2 separate regions of the Homo sapiens genome follow, and region 1 is linked to region 2. The links are contacts of gene promoters, found by promoter capture Hi-C in human tissues and cell types (Jung and others, 2019). All regions are on one chromosome and are shown on one strand. The core of a region is centred on a gene start or on the middle of the fragment in contact, and the rest is flanking DNA. Distances in the headings are between cores, read along the strand shown.

What was found. Contacts are between HindIII fragments. The study calls those that stand out against the background at their distance.
Region 1: a contact is called between the fragment with the promoter of FAU here and the fragment with the promoter of TRMT112 in region 2, in 1 of the 25 tissues and cell types used here (stomach).

The regions. Positions count from the first base shown.
Region 1 is chr11:65,120,065-65,123,676 of GRCh38, forward strand. FAU (FAU ubiquitin like and ribosomal protein S30 fusion) reads right to left here and starts at 2,070. Exons shown (of 5, transcript NM_001997.5): 1 at 2,026-2,070; 2 at 1,675-1,757; 3 at 1,436-1,580; 4 at 917-972; 5 at 566-742. The coding sequence starts at 1,749. The coding sequence ends at 617. It overlaps MRPL49 (mitochondrial ribosomal protein L49), which reads left to right and starts at 2,257. Exons shown (of 4, transcript NM_004927.4): 1 at 2,257-2,360. The coding sequence starts at 2,283. RefSeq lists enhancers at 2,028-2,117, 2,278-2,547. The HindIII fragment of the contact is 8,684 bases long and covers 1,642-3,612 here.
Region 2 is chr11:64,315,979-64,319,371 of GRCh38, forward strand. It overlaps TRMT112 (tRNA methyltransferase activator subunit 11-2), which reads right to left and starts at 1,581. Exons shown (of 4, transcript NM_016404.3): 1 at 1,471-1,581; 2 at 1,286-1,387; 3 at 1,080-1,169; 4 at 482-990. The coding sequence starts at 1,548. The coding sequence ends at 883. ESRRA (estrogen related receptor alpha) reads left to right here. Exons shown (of 7, transcript NM_004451.5): 7 at 1-765. It overlaps PRDX5 (peroxiredoxin 5), which reads left to right and starts at 2,143. Exons shown (of 6, transcript NM_012094.5): 1 at 2,143-2,408. The coding sequence starts at 2,238. RefSeq lists enhancers at 85-600, 1,758-1,957 and a silencer at 2,048-2,207. The HindIII fragment of the contact is 15,117 bases long and covers 1-3,393 here.

The DNA.
Region 1 (3,612 bases), core at 820-3,319, 800 kb after region 2:
AGCCCCAGAGGTAACCCAACTTTTGGGAACACTGAAACCTCACTATATCCAATCACAGATGTGATTAGGTTACCAAGTCCGGCCAGGCAGTCACAGAGGTACAAACGAGGCCATGCTCCCAACATAATATTTACTTCTAAAACCAAGGCAGACCAGATTCCTGCCCTGGACTCTAAGGCCACAGCTGGTACCAAGTTCAGGGAACGGCCAGGTTCACCTTCTATACAAACCTCTTCCCCCACCCATCCCTTCTATTGCTGCCTCCATAACAAACCTCTCACCACAGTGATTCCTGCTACCTTCTCTGTTTAGAAGATGAAAAAGAATGACCTGGGGGGACTGATCAAGTTACTTAGGATAGGGAATAACCCCAATTTTACATCTGAAGCCCCCCAGGATCTGTAGCTGTTTCTTCACAGGAAATTTCTCTTGTAGTTTACCATTTCTTCCCCCCATACCAAAGGCTTCTGCCTTTTCTGCCTCACTGTTCTCCTAGGGGACATACCACCAACCCGAGAAGCACACCTCTCCCTGAGGCCTTGCAAGTAAAGATGAAACAATGCGATGACTGAACTAAGTGGCTTTTTTATTAGAGAAAGCCAGAATTACAAAAGACTTAAGAGTTGGCATTGGGGCCCTTCTTCTTGCCAAAGGTGGGCACAACGTTGACAAAGCGCCGGTTGTACTGCATCCGCCGCTTAGCCCGACCTGTCTTCTTCTTCTTCTTCTCCTGTTTGGCCACCTGGAGAAGGGAAGGTTAATCAGGCCCTGGTTCCTGTCTTCCACACCTAGCATCCCTTCCCTCAGGCTCATCTCCAGGGAGGGAGAAGGCAAACCGAGTAAGAGCCCAGGGACTTGGTTTAGCTGTGAAAGGAAAAAAAGTCCTAACACCATGACCACTAATACTCTCACTCACCTTAGGAGTCTGACCTCTCACTTTTCCAGCACGGGCCAGGGAACCATGGACTTTACCTGTAGTGGGAAAGGAAGGCACCAGCAGGTAAGAGCAAGAAGGTGCCACCCAGCAGAACCCCTCTTTTCTCAATTCAAGCCTTTAAAGAGAAGCTGCGCCCAATAGGTAATGAGAACAAAGTTGCAGATATTTGACCTTGAAATCTTAAGTTTCATTTCAGGATCTTCCAGCTTCTAATTTTATAGAGCACTTTGGGGGCCCTGGTCTGACCTAATTTTAGTGTGGAAGCTGATAACCAGACTAGGATCTCGTGATGTGACTGAAATACAACTACACTCTGGCTCAGTCTCCCATGGACGTCTGTGTTCAACATGAGGGATGTAAACAGGAAGAATCACTCTGAACTGAAGACAGTGAGAAGTACTCTATTACCATAGGTGTGACACTCAGCTGTCAGGACTATGCACCCCACACTCACTAGACGCTTACCGGTACTTCAAAGAACATTCCTCTCTCACTCACCTCCAAGCATGCGGCCTGCTACTTCCAGGGTAGTCAGGGCCTCCACCCCGCACTGGCCCAGAGTGGCCTCATCCTCCAGGGGCGCGCCTGCCAGGAGCACGACTTGATCTTCCGGGGCAATGCCCTCCAGTGAGGCTACATGAGCCTACAGGGAAAGATAAGGCTCGTAAGCGTTCCCTCGGGCCGCGAGAGTGAAGAGCACAAGAAAATGGAACCCAGGGCGCACCAAGCAGCCTTACCTTGATCTGGGCGACCGTTTCCTGGCCGGTCACCTCGAAGGTGTGTAGCTCCTGGGCGCGGACAAAGAGCTGCATATTGGCGACTGAGTAAAGAAAAGACGGCTTGTAAGAGAAGCCAAGAAATGCTCTGGGATAAAGGAGATTTGGGAGTGGAAAGCGGTCCAGAAACGATCGCGACGGGATGGTGGTCGCGGCGGCTCACGTGGGGAAGGCCAGGCCTCCCAAGGAGTTCGGATAGGGACTGGAGCAGGGCCACGGAGCAGGCCCCGTTCTTCGGTTCCCCCCGCGCCTTCTGACCCCGCAGCCAACCTGCTACAAGCCCTTCGGATCCAGCCAAGGCCCCATTCTTACCTGAACGGCGGTCCCAGCTACCGCGAAGATGGAGTCGAGAAAGAGGAAGAAGCGAGGGCGCGTCAGTACAGACCGTGGGCTGCGTGTCACGTCACTGCTGAGCGACCGCGCGGTTCCCTGCTATTTGTACCGCCCAAGGCAGTCCTAGCTCCGCCCCTTTACGCTCGCACCGGCGAACCTGCCTGGGCAGGCAGCTCGCGCAGGACGGGGCGGGACCAGACAGTTGCGCGCACAGAAGGCTGGCGTAGCAGGTAAAGATGGCAGCTACCATGTTCCGGGCTACGCTGCGGGGATGGAGAACCGGTGTCCAGCGGGGCTGCGGGCTACGGCTGTTGGTGAGAGCGCTGAGCGAGGAGCTGAGGGCATCGCGTGGGTGTGAGGCTCAGTGTTAATCATTGTTAACCCCGAAAACTAAGGCATTCCTACTTGGGGCCTTAGTTTTGCCGTTTTCGATCAGGAGAACTTGTCCCGAGTGTACATATAGAATCGAGAGGGAAAATGGTAGACTGGGGTGCTCTTTGGGAGCACTTAACACAGTGCCTGGCAGTGTCTATATAAGCCACAACGTTTCAGGTAAGGGGCGGGGTCCTAGCATATGAGTGTGCGTGGGGAATTATGATTGCCTTAATTCTTTTTTTTTTTTTTTTTGAGACGGAGTCTCGCTCTGTCGCCCAGGCTGGAGGGCAGTGGCGCGATCTCGGCCCACTGCAAGCTCCGCCTCCCAGATTCACGCCATCCTCCTGCCTCAGCCTCCCGAGTAGCTGGGACTACAGGCTCCCGCCACCATGCCCGGCTAATTTTTTGTATTTTTAGTAGAGACGGGGTTTCACCTTGTTAGCCAGGATGGACTGGATCTTCTGACCTCGTGATCCGCCCGCCTCGGCCTCCCAAAGTGCTGGGATTACAGGCATGAGCCGCCGAACCCGTCTGATTGCCTTAATTCTTAAGGCAATCATAAGATTAAACATCACTATATCCCGTCACAGATGTGATTAGGTTAGCAAGGCCAGCCAGGCAATCATGGAGGTACAAACAAGGCCACGCTGCCAATATAATAATATCTATTTCTAAAACCGAGACAGAAAGTTAAGCCTTAAGTTTCTAAAGGCTTGATTGACTTTTCAGAAGTGTACATATACTCTTTTGCATCCCACAGAAATCCTGAGAGGCAGACCATTCAGAGTACCTGAGCCTCCTTTCCATCCCATCTGTACCCTGCACCATGGAAAACCAAAGACTGGTGCTATCTTATGTCAACCTAAATAACAGACTCTAAAAGAAAAGGATATTTATTCGGGAATGGGTATAGACTATGTGCTTATCAGGGAGGTAAAAGAAGACAAAGGTTTTTAACAGAAAAATGGGCCAGGCACGGTGGCTCACGCCTGTAATCCCAGCACTTTGGGAGGCCAAGGCGCGTAGATCACCTGGAGTCAGGAGTTTGAGACAAGCCTGGCCAACATGGTGAAACCCGTCTCTAGAAAAAATACAAAAATTAGCCGGGTGTGATGGCGTGTGCCTGTAGTCCCAGCTACTTGGGAGGCTGAGGTAGGAGACTTGCTTGAACTTGGGAGGCGGAGGTTGCAG
Region 2 (3,393 bases), core at 331-2,830:
GACTGGTGGGGGTTCTGGCAGGACCTGCCTAGCATGGGGTCAGCCCCAAGGGCTGGGGCGGAGCTGGGGTCTGGGCAGTGCCACAGCCTGCTGGCAGGGCCAGGGCAATGCCATCAGCCCCTGGGAACAGGCCCCACGCCCTCTCCTCCCCCTCCTAGGGGGTGTCAGAAGCTGGGAACGTGTGTCCAGGCTCTGGGCACAGTGCTGCCCCTTGCAAGCCATAACGTGCCCCCAGAGTGTAGGGGGCCTTGCGGAAGCCATAGGGGGCTGCACGGGATGCGTGGGAGGCAGAAACCTATCTCAGGGAGGGAAGGGGATGGAGGCCAGAGTCTCCCAGTGGGTGATGCTTTTGCTGCTGCTTAATCCTACCCCCTCTTCAAAGCAGAGTGGGACTTGGAGAGCAAAGGCCCATGCCCCCTTCGCTCCTCCTCTCATCATTTGCATTGGGCATTAGTGTCCCCCCTTGAAGCAATAACTCCAAGCAGACTCCAGCCCCTGGACCCCTGGGGTGGCCAGGGCTTCCCCATCAGCTCCCAACGAGCCTCCTCAGGGGGTAGGAGAGCACTGCCTCTATGCCCTGCAGAGCAATAACACTATATTTATTTTTGGGTTTGGCCAGGGAGGCGCAGGGACATGGGGCAAGCCAGGGCCCAGAGCCCTTGGCTGTACAGAGACTCTATTTTAATGTATATTTGCTGCAAAGAGAAACCGCTTTTGGTTTTAAACCTTTAATGAGAAAAAAATATATAATACCGAGCTCAAAAACACTGTGTTTGGTGTCATTGGGTCAAGGGTTGGGGATACACACGGCAGAATTCGGAAACAGGGTATAGATCAACAAAAATACACAGTCATAACAAGAAAAACTGGCGCCTGGCACAATCAACTCTCAGTTTCCTCTTCACTCAGCAGCATGTTGGGGATCCCGCGGCTGATGGGGAACATACGTCCAGATTCCGGGCACTGCAGGGTGCCCTCTATCACTTCCACCTGCGGGCAGGGAGGGACAGAGCTGAGCACTGGCAGCCTCAGTGCGGGAGGCAGGTGGCCCGGGAAGCAAGTGATGGGCCGCTTCTCACCTCCAGCAGCAGGTGGTGCATGGTCCTCAGAAACTCCTCATTCTCCTCATATCCCTCAACCGGCCCTTTCGGCACCTGGATCAGACGCAACTGTGGGCAAGAGGCCAAAATTATCTCCGGGCATCCCGAACTCCCGCCTCAGCCCGGCTGAGGTGTGCCCGCCCCGCATTCCCCGGGATATGCTGGGGCGGGGTAAGGATCCTCACGTTATCGGCCGCCTCCAGGAACGCCGACCACTCCACTTTAGGTATCATACGCGCCACGAAGTTGGGGTTGAATTCCACAGGGCAGATACGGACCTCGGTGGCCTGCAGGGCGGAGGAGTTTAGGCAAGCACTGGACCCCGGCCCACCATCCCGCCCGAAAAGGGAAGACTGCCGCCGGCGGGTACCTGGAGGCGCAGGGGGAAGCCACGGGACCCCACCCCCCGCACATGCGAGCTCAGCAGATTGTGGGTAAGCAGTTTCATGTCGCCGCACAAACTCTCGCCAGGCCGGAACCGGAAAAAGGTCGTCCTCCGCTGCCTCACTTCCGGGGATGCTCCTCTCGATGCTATTGGATAGCCAGGAGAACCGGAAGTGGCGAACTTGCTGGAACTTCTCGTGTTTGTGGGAGCTGAGGTAGGTAGGTGAAAGACCTGTCGGGTCACGCGCCGCTACCGGAAGCGTCTCAGCAGGAGGTTCCTACGGCGCACGCCCAGCTTTTTTTTGCCACAAATTCTTCGTAAGATGCAAATCATATGCAAAATAGCTGCAATGCAGGAGCTCTCGTTGAATGCAAAATAAACACATTTTACTCCTACACAGGCGCCTAACACCGTCGTCCTCTGTATCCCACTTTCGGTTAAGGGGCAGAAATACCGCCCTATCTGTAAATTAGGCCCATGGAAGCCGAGCCGCACCTCATTCCTATATGCAAATTAGCTGCTCCAGTGCCGAAAGCTCCGCCCCATTTGTAGTTGCGTCGGCTGTCCAGCACCCAGTGCAAACGAGGCGTGGGTCCCGGAAGCTCTGTTCTGCGGGTGGCCGCTCGCGCCTGCGCAGTGGAGGCGGCCCAGGCCCGCCTTCCGCAGGGTGTCGCCGCTGTGCCGCTAGCGGTGCCCCGCCTGCTGCGGTGGCACCAGCCAGGAGGCGGAGTGGAAGTGGCCGTGGGGCGGGTATGGGACTAGCTGGCGTGTGCGCCCTGAGACGCTCAGCGGGCTATATACTCGTCGGTGGGGCCGGCGGTCAGTCTGCGGCAGCGGCAGCAAGACGGTACAGTGAAGGAGAGTGGGCGTCTGGCGGGGTCCGCAGTTTCAGCAGAGCCGCTGCAGCCATGGCCCCAATCAAGGTGACCGCTGGCCCGGCCGGGCCTGACATCCCCCACTACCCCCATGGCAATCCCCGTCCCGCTAGTCTGAGAGTATCGCTTTATTTCCTGCCTGCCAGACCCCTCCCCTCCGCCCGCCCGGCTCATCCCTTCAGAAGGCCCTCGTGGCTGCCCACCTTTCTCGCCAATCGTGGGGGCCTCACCTCCCGGGACAGTCCCGAGGCATTGTGTTTTTTGTTTTTTGTTTTTTTTTGAGACGGAGTCTTTCTGTGTCGCCCAGGCTGGAGTGCAGTGACGCAATCTCTGCTCACTGCAGCCTCCGCCTCCCGGGTTCAAGCGATTCTACTGCCTCAGCCTCCTGAGTAGCTGGGACTACAGATGCGAGCCACCACGCCCAGCTATTGTATTTTTAGTAGAGACGGGATTTCACCCCGTTGTTCAGATTGGTCTCGAACTCCTGACCTCAGGTGAACCCCCCCCGCCCCCCCCCGCCTCGGCTTCCCGAAGTGCTAGGATTACAGGTGTGAGACACCACTCCCGGCCTGATTTCCCCTATCTTCTGAAACAGCTGTCCCTTAGCGCCCCCGCGGGGGCTTACCCCATCCCACTCCATGACCTCCCCTCCCCCCATGGCGAATTCCCACCTTTCTGTCTTTCACTCACTTCCTGGAACCGTCCCCAGGGCCTTGGACCTTCCCCCTTCTCCTCCCAAACCTTGTGAGACCCCATTCCCTTTCTACTTCATCCTGCTCTCAACCTTTGGGCTCCTCAGAGGCCCTCACCTCTGACTCTCTCTCCCTACCCACTCTGGTCCCATGAAGCCCTCAAGTACTCTGGGGATGGATCCTTCCCCCTTCAAAAGATTCCTTCTTTTGTTCTACACCTCCTGGGTGTAGGGGCCTGGACACCCTCCCCCAACGTTCCACCTGCCGCTGCCCTTCCTCTTCCTCCTCCTGAGGGTGGGACCCTCAGACCTGGCCAAGATCCTCTCCCTCCATGTTGTCAG